Regions from separate parts of the Homo sapiens genome. Here region 1 is linked to region 2. The links are contacts of gene promoters, found by promoter capture Hi-C in blood cells and fetal thymus (Javierre and others, 2016). All regions are on one chromosome and are shown on one strand. Each heading gives the region's core, a stretch centred on a gene start or on the middle of the fragment in contact. The rest is flanking DNA. Distances are from core to core; before and after follow the strand shown.

Region 1 (3,561 bases), core at 690-3,189, 150 kb before region 2:
TTGAATATCTCATTTGTCCTTAATCACAGACATGATTCTCCCCTTGAGGGGGTTGGCCAGTAGGTTGCCTGGGCTGTCTTCCAATACTACACTCAAAGCTTTTATTTTTTAAGGCTCCTCTTCTACTTTATTTATTTAAAATTACACAACTAGTAGACATTTGTAGTCAAAGAATTAAAAATATGAATGAGCAACACGTTTTAGAAAATCGCCCCAAATTGAGCCGGACACAGTGGCTCATACCTATAACCCCAGCGCTTTGGGAGGCCGATGCAGGTGGATTGTTTGAGTCTAAGAGGTCAAGACCAGCCCGGGTAACATAGCAAGACCCCATCTCTAAAAACATACAAAAAAATTAGCTAGGTGTGCCTGGCACGTGCCTATAGTCTCAGCTACTCAGGAGGCTGAGGTGGGAGGATCACCCGAGTCCAGGTTGAGGCTGCAGTGAGCCATGATCATGCCACTGCACTCCAGTCTGGGTGACAGAGTGAGATCCTGTATCAAAAAAAAAAAATTACCCCAAATCTTTTTTTTTGAGATGGAGTTTTGCCTTGTTGCCCAGGCTGGAGTACAATGACACGATCTCGGCTCACTGCGACCTCCACCTCCCAGGTTCAAGCGATTCTCCTGCCTGAGCCTCCCAAGTAGCTGGGATTTCAGGTATGCACCACCATGCCCTGCTAATTTTGTATTTTCAGTAGAGACGGGGTTTCTCCATGTTGGTCAGGCTGGTCTCGAACTCCCAACCTCAGGTGATCCGCCTGCCTTGGCCTCCCAAAGTGCTGGGATTACAGGCGTGAGCCACCGCGCCCAGCCAAAATTACCCCAAATCTTATTCCATATCCTTCCAGAAAATTTTCTAAATATTTTCATGGATATAAGTGCATGTATATATGCAAATAATGTGTGTACACAGAGACAATGTCTTTAAAACATGGAATCATACAGATTGTTAGCTATTTTTTTACTCTTAATATATCGTAAACATGTTTTTTTGGTCAGGAAAAACCTCCCCTAAAAGGCTCCAACCAGGCGATCCACAGGCCACATTTGACACCTAATTTTTGTCTGATGAAGTGCTTTAGTGATTTGAATTTGTATGCCCCTAAACTGGGACATGATTTGTTCACTTCCTGACTAATCCCTAAAGGCATTTGAGTTTGCCACCTTTGAGTTTTACGGTATCATTTCGAATTCCTACCATTGCCCTTGATCAGTGTTTCTCGGTAGTATCTGACATTTGGAGCCAGACAAGTCCTTATTGTCTAAAACTGTCTTGCAGACGGCAGGTTGTGGAGCCTCCTGAAAGCCCCCCAGTGTAACAGGCCAGTGTAATGGCCAAAGGGACCCCAAATGACCCCACACATTTCCAAAGCCCCCTGAGGTAGGAGGGTTTGCTCTCAGTTGAGAATCACTGAATTTGATATATGTTCCATTATTTTAAGATTAATGCCTTATTTTGGCCCTTTATACAAAACTAGATTGCCTACACCATCTTCCACATTTTAATATATTCTGAGCATATACTCAGAGCGTACACTTTGGGATAGCGAGGTGGAAGGATCACCGAGGCCGGGAGTTTGAGAAGAGCCCGGTGACAGAGTAAGACCCTGTCTCCCTTACTAGCCAAATGACACACAGCAGCTCATCCAAATGAAAACAGTAAATAATACGGACGTCCAACATTCTTAAATACTAATTTCAGTTCAGTTCCCTTCTAGATGTTAATTATTGAATTCAGTGTCTCAGTTTAATAATTTCAGTATCTATAAAGTGAGAAGAATAATAGTTTCCTACTTCACAGAGTTCTTGCATGAGCTCAGTGATTTATGCTGTTTGTAAAGACCTTTATACAATTCCAGGCATATACGAGGCACTCAGTAATTATTAGGTATTATTCAACCCTAAAATCCTCCACCACGATGGTGACTAGAACTATTAAAAATTGGATTGGTCTATTTTAGAAAACTTAGGCATTTGTTTTGAGTACAGTTTGGAGATAAGATCCAAGGTATGAAAATTATGACAGATGTCATTATTTAAGTGGCTAATGGCCCCTAACCACAATGAGCAGGTTGTTCCTTGGGGTCTAATTGCAGACTGCTGATCAGACAATCAGCAGAGACATCTGCTCATTTGCGCGTGCACGTGACACACACACACACACACACACACACACACCAAATAACCAGGAAATGGGCAATTTAAGGTAATTATGTTGTGAAAAAGCGCATGGACTGTGTGAGGGTTTGGTGTGCCTCGTTCCATCCTCGAGGTAGGGACGGTTCTGTCCTCTTCCACTGTGCTGAATTTTGACATCCAGCCCCCACACTAATGTAGTGCCCTGCCAGGCACCTCAAAACCAAACTTTAGGCTGGGCACGGTGGCTCATGCTTGTAATCTCAGCACTTTGGGAGAGCGAGGTGGAAGAATCACTTGAGACCAGGAGTTTGAGAAGAGCCTGGGTGACAGAGTAAAACCCTGTCCCTCCTCCCCCGACCAAAAAAAACCCTACTTCGTCCCAGTGCTAAGAGCATTTATTTTGTTTGCTTCAGACTTGAGTTAAGGCTGGATTCCATTTTATTAAGTTTCCCTCCTCCACTGATACAGGAGCTTTCTCATGGCCTTTCCAATAGGTACAGCGTAATATCAGGGGGAGAATAAAAAGATGCCCACTTTCCTGCCATACACCATGCTTTCTTTGGATAGGTTTATTCTAGAAAGAACGGTTTAAAACAAGATCACAATAGAAGATGATTTCTATGAAAAATCATATGGATTAGGCTAGGCGCAGTAGCCCACACCTGTAATCCCAGCACTTTGGGAGGCCGAGGTGGGTGGATCATGAGGTCGGGAGTTCAAGACCAGCCTGGCCAAGATGGTGAAACCCCGTCTCTACTAAAAATACAAAAATTAGCCGGGCATGGTGGCAGGCACCTGTAATCCTAGCTACTCGAGAGGTTGAGGCAGAGAATTGCTTGAACCCAGGAAGCGGAGGTTGCAGTGAGCTGAGATCACGCCACTGTACTCCAGCCTGTGTGACAGAGCAAGACTCTGTCTGAAAAGGAAAAAAAAAAAAAGAAAAATCATATGGATCAAAGTAATTATAATCAACATTGTCAACTGACTTTATTAATCTTTTCAAATGAAGTAGCTGTAAACTTTCTTTGCTGTCTCCATTAATTTGTTGTTTTTAACATTAGCTAAGGTATAATGGAAAGAGAACAAAAAGAAGGGAGAACAAAAGAAGGGGAAAGAAGGGAGCTAGGGCCTGCCTTCTCCTGGCTCTGTCACTTGCTAACGGTGTGACTTTGGACAGGGAGATGTCCCCTCTAGGCCCTGGTGAATTAGGGAGCTTGGCAAAGTACTCCTAAGGCTCTTTTCAGCCCTGAGCATCCTGCTCTTTAAAGGCTGGGGTGAAGTAAGGCGAAAAGAAAGCAAAGCTGGATGGAAATGGAAAATTTAAAAATAAAAAAATCTTTATTTCCATTTTGTAACATTCAGCCTCCTCCACATTGCTAGACTTTCTCTCCCAGTTTAATATGCAGTTTCCAATAATCA
Region 2 (3,365 bases), core at 587-3,086:
TTGATCTTGATAGCCACTGTCACCTGGCTATCGGAAGAACATAATGACTCATCTGCTTTCTAGGAATTTCCTGGGCAAAGTTTAGAACAGGTCAGGCTACCCATGACACTGGACAATACTGAAGATGCATGGACAAATTCTCGCCCTCTGGCTTTGCTTTGTTTAAAGACTCTATCATACAATTGTTCATTCATTCCTCAAATCTATATTGAGCTCCTCCTAAGTGCCGGGCACTGGGCTAGGTGGGTAGGGATACAAAAGAGGCACTGCCCCCTTGCCCTCCTCAGGGAGTTCACGGTGTTTGCAGAAAGACTGACAATTCCATACATAATTACCATTAATTGTGGTCAGTGTTATGAGAGTGAAGCAGAGGAAGCCAGAGGAACGAATGTGCAACATGTCAGCTAAGTCCACATAGGGGTCTGGGGAAGGGCTCCCCGAGGCAGTGTCCATGCACACATCCTTCCCTCAGCCAGGTGTCAGGGCACACTTGGGTCACTTGAATTCTGGCTCTCTTCAGCCAGTTGTCTGGCTACACCCTGACAACTCTGAGTGACCTCGGGTGTTTCCCTAGTCCCCACAAGCAATGCATCTACAAACTATCCCTTGGGTTGGGCTTGCAGACAATTCACTCTTTCATTCATTTAACAAATATTTATTGAGTCCCTATTAAGTACTGAAGCTAGCTCATTTCACCATGGGGAACTTTCGCCCCAACTTCCAGAGGTGCCTTACTGAAGCCCCCTGCACTGATTCCAGCCCACTTCAGAGCCTCTGGTTTCTTTTGGAGAGATGGGAGGACAGTTGAGGACGAGGACAGTGCAGCACTTGATGTCTCAAAGAATGGGCACCTGGTGTCGGGTAGTGACTCTCCCTCCCAGGAAGTAAATTAAGAAACTCCCCTACCCACCCTCCCAGCCCCTGTCCACAATTGCTTTCTGAGGTCCTTCCGTAGCACTCAATGGGCCTGGGATGGGCAGCTCTGCTGGCAGCAGCCGGAGCAGTGCCATGACCCAGGGAGACATTAATTCCTAGAAGCGGCAGAGGGCTGTGACTGGAGATTTGCTAGCCTTCAGGTCGCCTCTCATATAATTGTTCTAAGTCCAGTTTCTTGAGCTCTTTTATCAGATTCTAAACCCCTGTGTTCTCTTTGCACACTACCTGAGGGGCCAGGAATAATTTCCCCCATTGCACTGATGGATAGACCAAGGCACAGAGCTCACAAGCAACTTAACATTGGGGACAGAACTGGGAACCAGGTCTCCACCACAAACCAAAACCGCCTAAAGGCTCCCAGGGCCTCCCAGACATGGTTCTTCCCCTTCCTCAGGGGTGTTCAGAGGACTACTGTCTTCCCACCCCCTAGATCTCCAATCTTCAAAGCAAGCATCCCCAAGAGCACACCCCTCAGGTGGCCTCAATAGCTCCCATTGTCCAAGAGGCTCTTTGGCCTGACCCCCAGCCCCATAAGCAGCAGGACAGCAAGCTCAGAGGAGCTTGTCCTGCCTTGTCCCCCTCCTCTGCCTCGTCCCCCTCCTCCAGGGCCGCCTTGGGGGAGCCGGTGGGGCAGGAGCCCCGCTGAATGTGACCTATTGTCTTCGGGGTGGATTTAGGAAGTGCCAAGCTCCCATCACACAGCCCTGCTCCCCAGGTAAAACAAAAAAAGGGCTGTTCATTTGGGACCTTTTCCCCCTTATCTCCTTTTCCTATCTCCTCAGGCTTAGCTATGGTGTAGTGTTCAAAACCACTTCCCCTCTGAGCCAATCAGAAGCCGGGGCTCACCCCGTGGCCCTGAGGAAAAGTTATTTATAAACGCCTCCCTGGATTATTTGAGCAGAGCCCTTTCACACACCTCAGGAACACCTTTCGGCTGCCCGCTCCCCAGACACACCTGCAGCCCTGCCCAGCCGGCTTTGCTCACCCACTGGTAAGCCCCACCCAGCCCAGCCCACCCCACTGGGCTGGGGTCATCCCTGCAAGAGGGCAGTCACCAGGGGTACCGAGAGGAGGGATGACAGGAACCAACTGCCAAGCTGAGCACAAGTAGGAAGGACACTCTGGCCCCTGGAGTCTGAGAGCAGCCTCCCAGCCCTTCCCCTCTGAGGAGCCCTTTGGGTCTTCACGTCTATGTAAGGACCTGGGCTGCAAGGCTGGGCTTGACTGAGGGAGCAAGTAGGGTGAGGGTGTGGTGGTCGCCAGACCCCGAAACAGAGCGAGGCAAAGGCCTCCGAGGGAAAGGAAAATGTTAGACCTTCCTCCGCGACAGCCTTTGAAGCTGTGGGCTGCTCCTCTCCCTTTCTTTTCAAGTCTTGGAGGGAAAAGCTCTTAATGCTTGACTCACCAGCCTACTCTGCATGGCTGTCTCCCCCTCCTTCTACCGCCCAGACATCCTCCTTCACTCATGTACTTCTCCACCAGCTCGGGGAACTTAGCATGGACTACACAGAATCCCATGTGTCCCCATTAGTCCTGAGAAGTTGGAAGAGGTGGAGGGGGAGGAAACTGAGGAGTGGGAGAGGGTGAGCAAGGGACCAGCTCCATCAGGCAGGCGGGTGGGCGGTAGCTGGACCTGGGACGCCCGACTCAATGGTGAATGCTTCAACACAGAAGGGCTTGGGCCAGGACAGTGGATGGGCAGCCAGCTCTCCAGGCTCTCAGCCTCCAAACCCCTCATCCTGCAGCTCCAAGGGGTTCCAAGCCACTCTCAGGCAGTGCCCCCATTCCTCAAAACCAGCCCAGAGGGTCCCCAGCTGAGACCTAACAAAGCTTCTATTATTCCAGCATCAACTGCCCCCTTACACTTGGCCCCACGGGTCTGAGGACCAGAAGACCCTGGAGTGACGCAGCCCCCCAAGTGGGCAGACTGAGAGAGGGCTTTCCCCCTGAGTGGCTTCACTCATGCAGATGACCCTTTCTCAGAACCCCACAGTCCTCCCCCACCTCCCTCATCCTGGCCCTGGCATCCAGAACCTGGCAAGACCCTGCTTGGGCAGCATGGAGACCAGCATGGCCAAGAGCACCTCCACTGCCAGGAAGGCCTTCCCAGGCACTTCCCAGAGCTAGCCACCTGCTCTCTGAGTCTCATTTGTATAAACCCTGGGGCAGAGACGGACTCCTCTTTATCTTTTAATGCCCAGAGTCTTCCGGAGATTGGCATATACCCAGTATTCAAGAGTGCCTCTTAAACCGTACTAAACAGCCAGACTGACCCCCGTGAACTTGCTGGGGGAATCGAGGACCAGCTCAACACTGACCAAGCTTTGGGGGCTGTGGGGTCACTACTTGGAAGATGGAAGGGGCAGAGCCACCCCTTCAAGGGGAGTTGATCTTCACTGGATGCCTCTCTGGGCTTTCGCCTGGATTTC

What was found. The method cuts DNA at HindIII sites, captures the fragments that hold promoters and counts their contacts. A CHiCAGO score of 5 or more calls a contact.
Region 1: a contact is called between a fragment that was not itself captured here and the fragment with the promoter of SLC26A9 in region 2, in 3 of 17 cell types (M0 macrophages, naive CD8 T cells and M2 macrophages). The highest score is 6.8, in M0 macrophages.

Annotation. Positions count from the first base shown.
Region 1 is chr1:206,092,790-206,096,350 of GRCh38, reverse strand. The region is part of intron 1 of RHEX (regulator of hemoglobinization and erythroid cell expansion); the gene reads right to left. Among named protein-coding and RNA genes, the nearest start is that of AVPR1B, 23 kb to the left of the region's middle. The HindIII fragment of the contact is 3,685 bases long and covers 97-3,561 here.
Region 2 is chr1:205,941,927-205,945,291 of GRCh38, reverse strand. It overlaps SLC26A9 (solute carrier family 26 member 9), which reads left to right and starts at 1,836. Exons shown (of 21, transcript NM_052934.4): 1 at 1,836-1,927. The region is part of intron 2 of SLC26A9-AS1 (SLC26A9 and RAB7B antisense RNA 1); the gene reads right to left. The HindIII fragment of the contact is 4,358 bases long and covers 1-2,768 here.